Linked DNA regions of Homo sapiens: region 1 is linked to region 2. Evidence: promoter capture Hi-C in 16 types of primary human blood cells and fetal thymus (Javierre and others, 2016). All regions are on one chromosome and are shown on one strand. Each heading gives the region's core, a stretch centred on a gene start or on the middle of the fragment in contact. The rest is flanking DNA. Distances are from core to core; before and after follow the strand shown.

Region 1 (5,354 bases), core at 2,352-4,851, 620 kb after region 2:
CTTTATTAATGCTCAGCCAGGTAGCCTGAGTGTCTGGAGCTCTGCTTCTGGCTGTCAGCTGTGGCTTTCTTGGTTCTTCTCAGTGTCCTGTATGAGAAGGCTTCTTCAGTGAGGTGGCTGGCTCCCGCCTGGGGCTGACTAGACATCCTTCTCTGCATGTAGCCCCTGTGATCTCTTCAGAGCATCTGAGTTGGCTCCCCAGAGACAGTGTTCCCAGAAATAGGAGGTGGAATCTGGCTTCCTCTTCAGGTGCTGGTCTGGACCTGGCAGTACCACGCCTGCTGCGTTCAATGGGCCAGAGCAGTCACCCGCCTGCTGGGACTCATTGGGGGAAGTAAGATCTTCCCACACAAGGACAGGAGAGTCACATTGTGGCCATCAGGCCTTCCTGCCCTCCAATTCAATTCCAAGGCTGGTTAATTTGGGCTTTTTCTCTTGTGTTCCCTTTCTGTGTTTCCATGAGTCTTGCCAGAGATCACTGGTTCACTGCATTGTCTTTTCAAAGAACCAATGTTTATCTTTGTGTACCTGCCGTTATATGTAATTAATACAGGTTGAATTTCTTACTAGTTCCCTTTTTCTGTTTTCTTTGAGCTTACTTTGTTCTTCTCTCCCTGACTTGTTCAGGTAGGCACTCTTTAATTTTTTTACTCCTATTCTAGCTTGAGCACCGAGCTATAAAGGTCCCTCTGATGTACTGCTTTATCTGTGTGCCACACAATTCTGTACATAATCTTTTCTAGTTTTAAGTTCTAAGTGTTTTCTGTTTTCTCCTGTGATTATTTTCTTTTGTCTATGGATTATTTAGAAGTGTATTGCTGAACTCTCAGACATATGGGACTTTCTAGTTATACTTGGCTTGTTAATTTCTAGGCTCATGGTATTACGATCAGAGGATGAGCTCTGTCTGATTTCAGCCACCTGAAATATGTTGAGATTTTCTTTACGGCTGGGATATGGTCTATTTTTAGAAGTGGCTCATGTGTCCTTGAGGAGCTGATGTGTGATGCACTGTTAGGAGCAGCGTCTTGCATGTGACCACCATGCAGCTTGTTAATTGTGTTGTGCAGATCTTCCATCTCTCCACTGTTTTGTTTTTTCAGCCGCTGTCTGCTGTCTCTGTCACCTGCTCCTCTCCACTCCCTCCATGACAAAAAGACTCCGGTGTTTTTGACCATCTTTTATTGCGCCCCTACTGTGATCTTAGTCACGGGGCCAAGCACTCTACATCTGTTCCTCCATTTAATCCTCACGGCACCATCTGCGGCGGGTGTTCCTTGTGTCCTCGTCCTGTCCTCATAGGAGCAAGCCTGGAAGGGGCTGAGTCACTGTTCAAGTCACACGACTGCAAGGCTGAGGTCTAGGGTGGTGGCCTGGACCCCTCTTTCCTGGAAGCCATGCTTTTCCTGAAACCCCTTGCAATACTCCTGGCAAGTATGGCAGTTTTACCTCAGTTGGTATGAGTGTACTCAAATGGGAGGCAACCATTCTCACACTTGATGTTTAGACTTTGCAGCTTCCAAAACCCACTCTGCATATCACCTGCTCCCTCCTCAAAGTGGCTGGGCTTCCCATGCAGTTTCCCATCCTGCAGACGGCCCAGGGAGGTCAGATTTCTTGGCCAGGCTTGCAGAGTTGGTGGGACATGATGTGGGCACTAGAACCCAGTTCTGTAAATCTTGGTTTCATGTCCTTTCTGCTGTGTTTTTCTTTCTCTGTTTAGGCGGTGGACTTTTTGGTGTGTAAAGCTTCTAGAATGGATTTTACTTCTTTGTGGCTCTTTGGATTGAGGGAGGGGCTAGGTGCCATCTCCAGAGAAGCTTGTTCAGCTCATGCTCACTCGGGGCCCTTGCTCTCTGCCCACTGGGGAGGGGCTGTGGTGGAGCTGGATTCGGACTGAGTGGAGGCAACGCTGAAGGTCAGAGGCCAACGTCCTTGCACTTCTTGACACTCTCCACCCAGGCGTGGTGATTGGGACCGCTGGGGAGGGTGATTTGGGAGCTTGAATCTGGTGTGGGGATGATGGGGGTCATTGATAGTGGGGACAGTTCTGGACATGTGGCCCTCATTCTCTGTGCTGGACAAGATGACTCTGTGACCTGTAATTCCAGGCTGATAGAGCATTTTCAGTGACAGCCCATTTGACTTGATGGTGCTAGTGCAGGACACAGGTGAGCTTGTCTCTGTGTCTTAGGTCTGTCCCAGCAGACGAGCTGACGTGTGTTGTAGATGAATGTCAGCTGGTCACAGGTGGGAGGTTTGGAAGGTAGCCTCCAATCTCCTCTGAGGACTGCAGCAGCGACCGGGGCAGCAGGAACGCATTGTGATGGCCTGGCCAAGTCTGCATAGCGAGAGTCGAGCCACTTTCACGCGCACCTTATCCCACACTTCACCTCCTTCCTCCAGGTTCCCACTCAGAAACCCGCTCACCCCTGGACACACCTCCCAGAGACTTCTCTTTGGAACTCTGCAATGGAGAAACCCATTGCAGACTTCCCCTTCTTTTGGATATCAGTTTGCTTTTCAGGAAGAAAATTTTAATACTCCATATTGAGGTTTTATAATTATATTAGCATGTTGAAACATTTTCTCTAATGGCTTGCTGGTTGAAAACGCTTTCACACAGAGCAGAAACTAGATGGAGATACTGTTTCACAACCTCTGCTTCAGAAGCAGAGGTGGCCTGTAGCTTCCAAACCCGGGCAGAGCACGTGCAGGGATGGTGCGTCTCTGTATCTGGACTCACATTCACATGTGTGCATGTGTAGGGGTGTGTGCATATTGAATTGTAAAAAAGATGAGTACGTGTGAGATTCTGCCTGAGACTCCAGTCCTCAGTGTGTGGCCTGGTGCCGCTGATGCCGAGATGTTGGGCTGGCAGCGATCTGCCTCCGTCTGTCACAGGTGCCTCTACCTGCTGCAGGCAGACGGACGGAGACGTGATGGATTGCGCATATCCCCTTTACAGATTCGGAAGAGTACATTTAAAATAACTTAAATTTGTATTTAGAAGACTTTTCATGGAGAGTATTTATTGTTATAGAGTTCACTTCTGAAATGGTGACAAAGCTTTTGATACTGAATCAAACAAGTGTGAAGTTACCGAATCTCTCTGTTACACAGAGTGGAGCCTTTCAGGCTGGCATGGAGAGCTTAAGGGGCAACTGAAGGAGACACACTGGCCAAGCGCGGAGTTCTGCTTACTTCAGTCCTGCTGAGATACTCTCTCAGTCCGCTCGCACCGAAGGAAGCTGCCTTGGGATCAGAGCAGACATAAAGCTAGAAAAATTTCAAGGTGAGTAAAAACCTGTAAAGATCTGATCAAATCTGACTGGTAGAAATGCCTTTTTCTTGATATAAACCGCTTAATTAAGCCTTTTGGCTTGCCTTTGAAAGATGCTTTATTGAATACTTCCCGGCACAGATGATCTGTTACTGTTGGTTGATTTCTAATCTTACTGCAGCCTTAGCTCACCCATGAGTCCCTCCTGCTTGTTCTGGGGTGGTGCCTGCTGCCCTCCAGTGGCATGTGTGGCACCTGCTGCCCTCCAGTGGCATGTGTGGCACTTGCTGCCCTCTTTGGGGTCAGTTCACCATTTATTGAGTCAGTGCTTCATGCCGGGCACTAGACTTGGTGAAAGCCTTTTACCATCAATTATTATTTTCTTAGGAGTAATTAAAAGAAAATTTTCCTGTAATCCCAGCACATTGGGAGGCTGAGGCAGGCAGATTACTTGAGGCCAGGAGTTTGAGACCAGCCTGGCCAACGTGACGAAACCCCATCTCTACCAAAAATACAAAAATTAGCCAGGTGTGATGGTGCACGCTTGTAGTCCCAGCCTCGGGAGACTGAGGCAGGAGAATCGCTTGAACCCGGGAGGCAGAGGCTGCAGTGAGCTGAGATCATGCCGTTGCATTCCAGCCTGGGTGACAGAGCAAGACTCTTTCTCAAAAAAAAAAAGAAGAACATTTCTTTAGTACTTATTTTTGGCGACTATCTCATGATTCAGCGTCTGCTTTTGAGAGAAGTTGTGACAAATACTAAAATCCCAGTAAAATTAGTATGGTGTCAGATTAATTTACTTATGAGCAGCTGAGTGACTAACTCAGGAAGTCCAGTTGTACATTTCCAGGGAAGCTTTTTCATGGGTTCAGATGAGATGAGGGGAAAGAGAAGGTGTCAGAGGGCTGCTGCTGGCTGGAGGAACGCAGGTGTGCTCCTGTGTCCATTTGCTCTGTGGATACTGACGAGCGCCCACTGGGCCTCAGATGCCCTCTGGGCATGGCAGGGACCAGGCGCTCGCTTGGCAGCTCTCATGTGAGCCGCTCACTGGACACAGCCGTGCTCCCGCCTGGGAGTTCGGGATGGCATGCAGAGCTGTGGGGAGGGAGCGGTCACCAGGGCGTGAGTGTGGACAGATGGGAGTGGCTGGTGCAGAGCCATAGGTAGGGGGCGGTCACCAGGGCGTGAGCGTGGATGGATGAGAGTGGCTGGGAGCCTAGGGGGGACGCCGTCTTTGGGGAGTAGAGACACACCCATGTCTGACTACTGGGTTTTGAGTTTGTGCCAGCAAAGGTCCTGCTTGCCATTTCTGTCTGTAAATGTCAGGAATTTCAGGTAACTGGTTCCCTAGCGAGACCTTTAAAGGAGGCTTTATCTTCAACCGATGCTTTTTTTGGGGGGGTACACAGGCAGTCCAAGTATGGGAAGGTCAAAATCAGGTCACCTTTATCATGGCTTGTGCTGTGGGATGGGATTTTATTTTCAGCCACAGCGCTTCTTCTAGCTTAATTAGTGATAGGAAATCAGCTTCTCTGTAACCAGAGGTTATTGAAAGAATGAGGATCCCAGAGTTGGAATGAGTCTGAAAGAGACGTTGTGGTTTAATATTGCTAAGTTAAGTGTCGATTTGTGACTACCTATTTTTAACATGCCACAGAAGTAAAACATTGCATTAATTATGCCATATATGTGAAATAGCAAGTATTTTTATATAATATAACTGTGCATTGGAGAAATGAATTATTTATAATCCTTTGCACCAATAAATTGTTCTTAAAAGCATAGAAAAAATAATCAGGCCAGAAGGAGATATCTAAAGCATGTGCTGAGAAAGCAAAACTGAAGAGCTGGAAATTATAAAATATTACGACATGATGAGTCATATCTCCTCCTCCTGATTCTGTGTTACTAAATGCTAGCTGCGAATAGAAATCGTGTATTTCCTTTCTTTCATAAAATAAGAGCTAATTTCGGCAGCAAACAGTTTGGCGTGTTATTCTTTTCCCTTTTCAGGGTGGTTTAAATAAAAATAAATAAACATGAAAGATTTTGGCTGGAACATCTTTGGAAG
Region 2 (5,047 bases), core at 2,364-4,863:
GTTAGGGGGCGAGAAAATGATTGTCATGATGAGCAGCTGCAAATGAAAGTTAAAAAGCCAACCCCATTCGTTAAACGTACGATACTTGGAAAACTCCTGGAAATAAATGAGAACACCACAGTGTCTATGAGAGAAAAATTAAATATCAACAACTCCCATGTTAGGATGTCCACACGCCGCATCCCTGACAGAATCCAAAGGCAGAAGCACCAGCACTCGTGGGTTGTGGCTACACCCGGGGCAGGGCCCCAGCTCAGATCCCACACGGGTGCAGCCAGCGCCGGGCCATCCACTGGGCCCAGCCAATCTCGGAAATGACACCTGACTTGGGACTCGCTGTGAGCCGGTGGCACCTGCGAGAGAAGGTGAGCCCCCGGGGGGAAGCAAGGCTCTGGGAGGAGGCCGGCCTCGGTGAGCCCTTGGGGGGAAGCAAGGCTCTGGGAGGAGGCCGGCCTCGGTGAGCCCTCGGGGAAGTAAGGCGCTGGGAGGAAGCTGGCCTCAGTGAGCCCTCGGGGAAGCAAGGCTCTGGGAGGAAGCTGGCCTCGGTGAGCCCACAGTGGGGAAGCAAGGTGCTGGGAGGAAGCCGGCCTCGGTGAGCCCTCGGGGGGAAGCAAGGCTCTGGGAGGAAGCTGGCCTCGGTGAGCCCTCAGGGGGAAGCAAGACTCTGGGAGGAGGCCGGCCTCGGTGAGTCCTCGGGGGGAAGCAAGGCTCTGGGAGGAGGCCGGCCTCGGTGAGCCCTTGGGTGGAAGCCGGCCTTGGTGAGCCCACAGGGGGGAAGCAAGGCGCTGGGAGGAGGCCGGCCTTGGTGAGCCCACGGGGGGAAGCAGTGTGCTGGGAGGAAGCTGGCCTCGGTGAGCCCTCGGGGGGAAGCAAGGCTCTGGGAGGAGGCCGGCCTTGGTGAGCCCTCGGGGGGAAGCAAGGCTCTGGGAGGAAGCCGGCCTCGGTGAGCCCTCGGCGGGAAGCAAGGCTCTGGGAGGAGGCCGGAGTTGGTGAGCCCTCGGGGGGAAGCAAGGCTCTGGGAGGAAGCCGGCCTCGGTGAGCCCTCGGGGGGAAGAAAGGCTCTGGGAGGAGGCCGGCCTTGGTGAGCCCTTGGGGGGAAGCCGGCCTTGGTGAGCCCACAGTGGGGAAGCAATGTGCTGGGAGGAAGCTGGCCTCGGTGAGCCCTCAGGGGGAAGCAAGGCGCTGGGAGGAGGCCGGCCTTGGTGAGCCCTTGGGGGGAAGCCGGCCTTGGTGAGCCCACAGCGGGGAAGCAAGGCTCTGGGAGGAAGCCGGCCTCGGTGAGCCCTCGGCGGGAAGCAAGGCTCTGGGAGGAGGCCGGAGTTGGTGAGCCCTCGGGGGGAAGCAAGGCTCTGGGAGGAAGCTGGCCTCGGTGAGCCCTCGGGGGGAAGCAAGGCGCTGGGAGGAGGCCGGCCTTGGTGAGCCCTTGGGGGGAAGCCGGCCTTGGTGAGCCCACAGGGGGGAAGCAATGTGCTGGGAGGAAGCTGGCCTCGGTGAGCCCTCGGCGGGAAGCAAGGCTCTGGGAGGAGGCCGGAGTTGGTGAGCCCTCGGCGGGGAAGCAAGGCTCTGGGAGGAAGCCGGCCTCGGTGAGCCCTCAGCAGGAAGCAAGGCTCTGGGAGGAAGTTGGCCTCGGTGAGCCCTTGGGGGGAAGCTGGCCTTGGTGAGCCCACAGTGGGGAAGCAAGGCTCTGGGAGGAAGCCGGCCTCAGTGAGCCCACAGTGGGGAAGCAAGTCTCTTGGAGGAGGCCGGCCTTGGTGAGCCCACAGTGGGGAAGCAAGACTCTGGGAGGAAGCCGGCCTCGGTGAGCCCTCGGGGGGTAGCTGGCCTCGGTGAGCCCTCAGGGGGAAGCAGGGCTCTGGGAGGAAGCCGGCCTCGGTGAGCCCTTAGGGGGAAGCAAGGCACTGGGAGGAAGCTGGCCTCGGTGAGCCCTCGGGGGAAGCAAGTCTCTTGGAGGAAGCTGGCCTCGGTGAGCCCTCGGGGGAAGCAAGGCTCTGGGAGGAAGCTGGCCTCAGTGAGCCCACAGTGGGGAAGCAAGGCTCTTGGAGGAGGCCGGCCTCGGTGAGCCCACAGTGGGGAAGCAAGGCTCTGGGAGGAGGCCGGCCTCGGTGAGCCCACAGTGGGGAAGCAAGTCTCTTGGAGGAGGCCGGCCTCGGTGAGCCCACAGTGGGGAAGCAAGTCTCTTGGAGGAGGCCGGCCTCGGTGAGCCCACAGTGGGGAAGCAAGTCTCTTGGAGGAGGCCGGCCTCGGTGAGCCCACAGTGGGGAAGCAAGTCTCTTGGAGGAGGCCGGCCTCGGTGAGCCCACAGTGGGGAAGCAAGGCTCTGGGAGGAGGCCGGCCTCGGCAGCTCATTACCTGTAAATAATACTGTTCACCGAGAAGGTACGCCCATCGAAGGAGTTGGCCACCACCAGGAAATAATCTTCTCCCACCGAGAAAAACTCCCAGTCCAGAGCACTGCAGGAACAAGTGGGTGGATATTAGGACACAACAGACATCGCCAGGGAACTGGGGGATTGGCCAGAAGCTACCTCCAAAATTTATAGAGGAGGAGCCGGGGCCAAAGTGGGGAGTGATTTTCTCACAGTCACATATGTGTTGGTCTATTCCAGGAAAATGTAAATTAGTTGTTTGCTTAAAAAAAATTTCAAATTTTATTTTATTTTATTTTTGAGATGGAGTCTCATTCTGTCACCCAGGCTGGAGTGCAGTGGCGAGATCTCGGCTCACGGCAACCTCTGCCTCTCGGATTCAAGCGATTCTCCTGCCTCAGCCTCCCGAGTAGCTGGGATTACAAGTGTGCGGCACCACGCCCGGCTAATTTTTGTATTTGTAGTACAGACAGGGTTTCACCATGTTGTCCAGGCTGGTCTTGAACTCCTGACCTCAAGTGATCTGCCCACCTCAGCCTCCCAAAGTGCTGGGATTACAGGCATGAGCCACCATGCCTGGCCTCAAATTTTAAATTATGGTAAAATACATATAACATAACATTTCCCACCTCAACCATCTTTAGGTGCACAGATCAGGGGCATTAAGCACATTCATACTGCTGTGTGGCCGCCCCCACCATCCACCTCCAGAACGCCTTCATCCTGCAAAACCGAAGCTCTGCACCCAGTAAACATCACCCCCTCCCCCCTCCCCCCCCCCCCCCCCCCAGCCCCGGCACCCACCACGCCACTTTCTGTCTCTATGAATTTGACCACTCTAGGGACCTCATATGAATGGAATCGCACGGTATTTGTCCTTTGTGTCTGCCTTAGCTGAGACTCCAGTGACTCAAGGTTCATCCGTGTCGCACTGTGTGTCAGAATCGCCTTCCTTTCTAAGGCCGAGTAACGCTCCGCTGTGTGAATGGACACGTTGTGTTTGTCCATCCGCTGACAGACACTTGGGGAATTTCCTCCATGTGGCTACTGTGAATGCTGCTGCTATGAACACCGGGGTACAAAAGTCCACTTTTAAGAGGTTGAAACAATCAGAGAAAAAGTCTCAGGCTGCTGGTGCCTGCTGGAGGCAGGAGCTTGGTTTCCCGCTCTGGACACTGTGCAGAAATGGCGTCACAGTGCTGTGGCCTCTGTGCCTGGTTTCTTCTCTCAGCATTGTGTCTTCAGCTGTGAGGTCAGCGGCCGTGAGGTCACTCCAGGAGGTGCCTACAGGACCTGCAGGACCTGCTCGTTCACAGATGTTCTCCTAGAAGCAGAAGCTGTTTCTTGTTGCAAACAAATTTGCTGTGTCCTGTCTTAGGAGTCTCACCTGAATTTACCAAGGATGCATCTGTGCTTGGGGATGGCTCGGTTTGAGGGGTCTGAGGAGCGGCTCCCCTGGATCCTTTCCTCCCCAGGAGCCCACCTGCCGAGCTGTCAGCGTCAGCCCCACATCTCAAGATGAGGAAATGGAGGTCGAAGCCATGCACACGCAGGCGTCCTGCTGACATGCAGGCCAGGCGGGTGCCTCTGTATTCAGCAGCCTCAGGGCTGTGGCCAGTTCAGGCAGCAGAGGGGCCTCATCCCGGTGCTTCCCTGCAGGCAGTTGTGGGGCCGGCCTGCAGCAGGGGCTCAGACAGGGCCTTGGGAGAGGGAGGGATCACAGAGGTGTCCAGTGACAGGCAGGGCGGGCAGAGCCCATGGGGCCTTGGGCTCCTCACTCCTTCGGTCAGTCAGGGTGACATCTGGAGCCACCTCCATTAATGGTGGGTTATGATTTGGTTCCCATGCAGCCCGTGCCAGCTCGCTGGGAGGAGGACGAGGACGCCTGTGATCACATGCTCTGGTCTGGAGGCACGGCCGCGGGCCCCGGGTCAGTGTGAATCCGCGGGGTTACTCCTCAGTCGGATCTGAGCTCTGAAACCCAGACCCGAGGAAGACAAGCGGCCACGTCGGATGTACCAGTGGTGGAAGATCCTGTCCGGCTGCACCGAGGCTCACATCAGAAGCCGGCTTCGGTTTCACCACAAAATAAGGCATCTAGTGCCCGATTCTGCCTCCAAAGCAGCCCTGGGTCACACTCGCTGTAGGACAGATGTTATTCTTCAGAATCACGCCCTCTGGCAAATGCCCATCATCGGACAAATGGACGGATGAAGTGTGACTCAGCCATGAGAAGGGGGATGCTCTGAGCCGCGCGGCCACACCACCAACCCGGAGGACACGGTGCTGCGAGAAAAAGCCAGGTACAGAGGCCACGGCTCTACGAGTCCATTTCTGTGCAGTGTCCAGAACGGGAAATCACAGAGACAGGAAGTGGGCCCGGGGGTGCCCAGTTGGGAGGGAGGGGCTGGAAAAGGGTGTGGGGGGCTCCTTGTGAGGGGATGAGAATGTTCCAGAGTTGTCTGCAGCCATGGCTGCACATATCTGTGGATTTAATAGAACTACTGAATCTAAAAAGCAAACACAAGCGACCATTTGAAGGCAGTCAGAGCCAAGGTTACACACAGAAGCCACAAAACCCCTCAGCGCCCTTGAATAGGGTTTTGGACTTGGTGAGGCCACATCACGTCTCCGGGAAGTGTAGGGAATTCCCCATGCTGGGTAGAAGGGCTAGGAGTTTG

Evidence for each region. The method cuts DNA at HindIII sites, captures the fragments that hold promoters and counts their contacts. A CHiCAGO score of 5 or more calls a contact.
Region 1: a fragment that was not itself captured here is called in contact with the fragment with the promoter of TSPEAR-AS1 in region 2 in 1 of 17 cell types (fetal thymus); the score reaches 5.2 in fetal thymus.

What each region holds. Positions count from the first base shown.
Region 1 is chr21:45,125,279-45,130,632 of GRCh38, forward strand. ADARB1 (adenosine deaminase RNA specific B1) reads left to right here. Exons shown (of 11, transcript NM_001112.4): 2 at 3,124-3,295. Among named protein-coding and RNA genes, the nearest start is that of ADARB1, 53 kb to the left of the region's middle. RefSeq lists an enhancer at 172-351. The HindIII fragment of the contact is 1,069 bases long and covers 3,068-4,136 here.
Region 2 is chr21:44,502,431-44,507,477 of GRCh38, forward strand. It overlaps TSPEAR-AS1 (TSPEAR antisense RNA 1), which reads left to right and starts at 3,614. Exons shown (of 7, transcript NR_103707.1): 1 at 3,614-3,898; 2 at 4,217-4,669. TSPEAR (thrombospondin type laminin G domain and EAR repeats) reads right to left here. Exons shown (of 12, transcript NM_144991.3): 11 at 2,350-2,451. RefSeq lists an enhancer at 732-1,251. The HindIII fragment of the contact is 6,455 bases long and covers 1-5,047 here.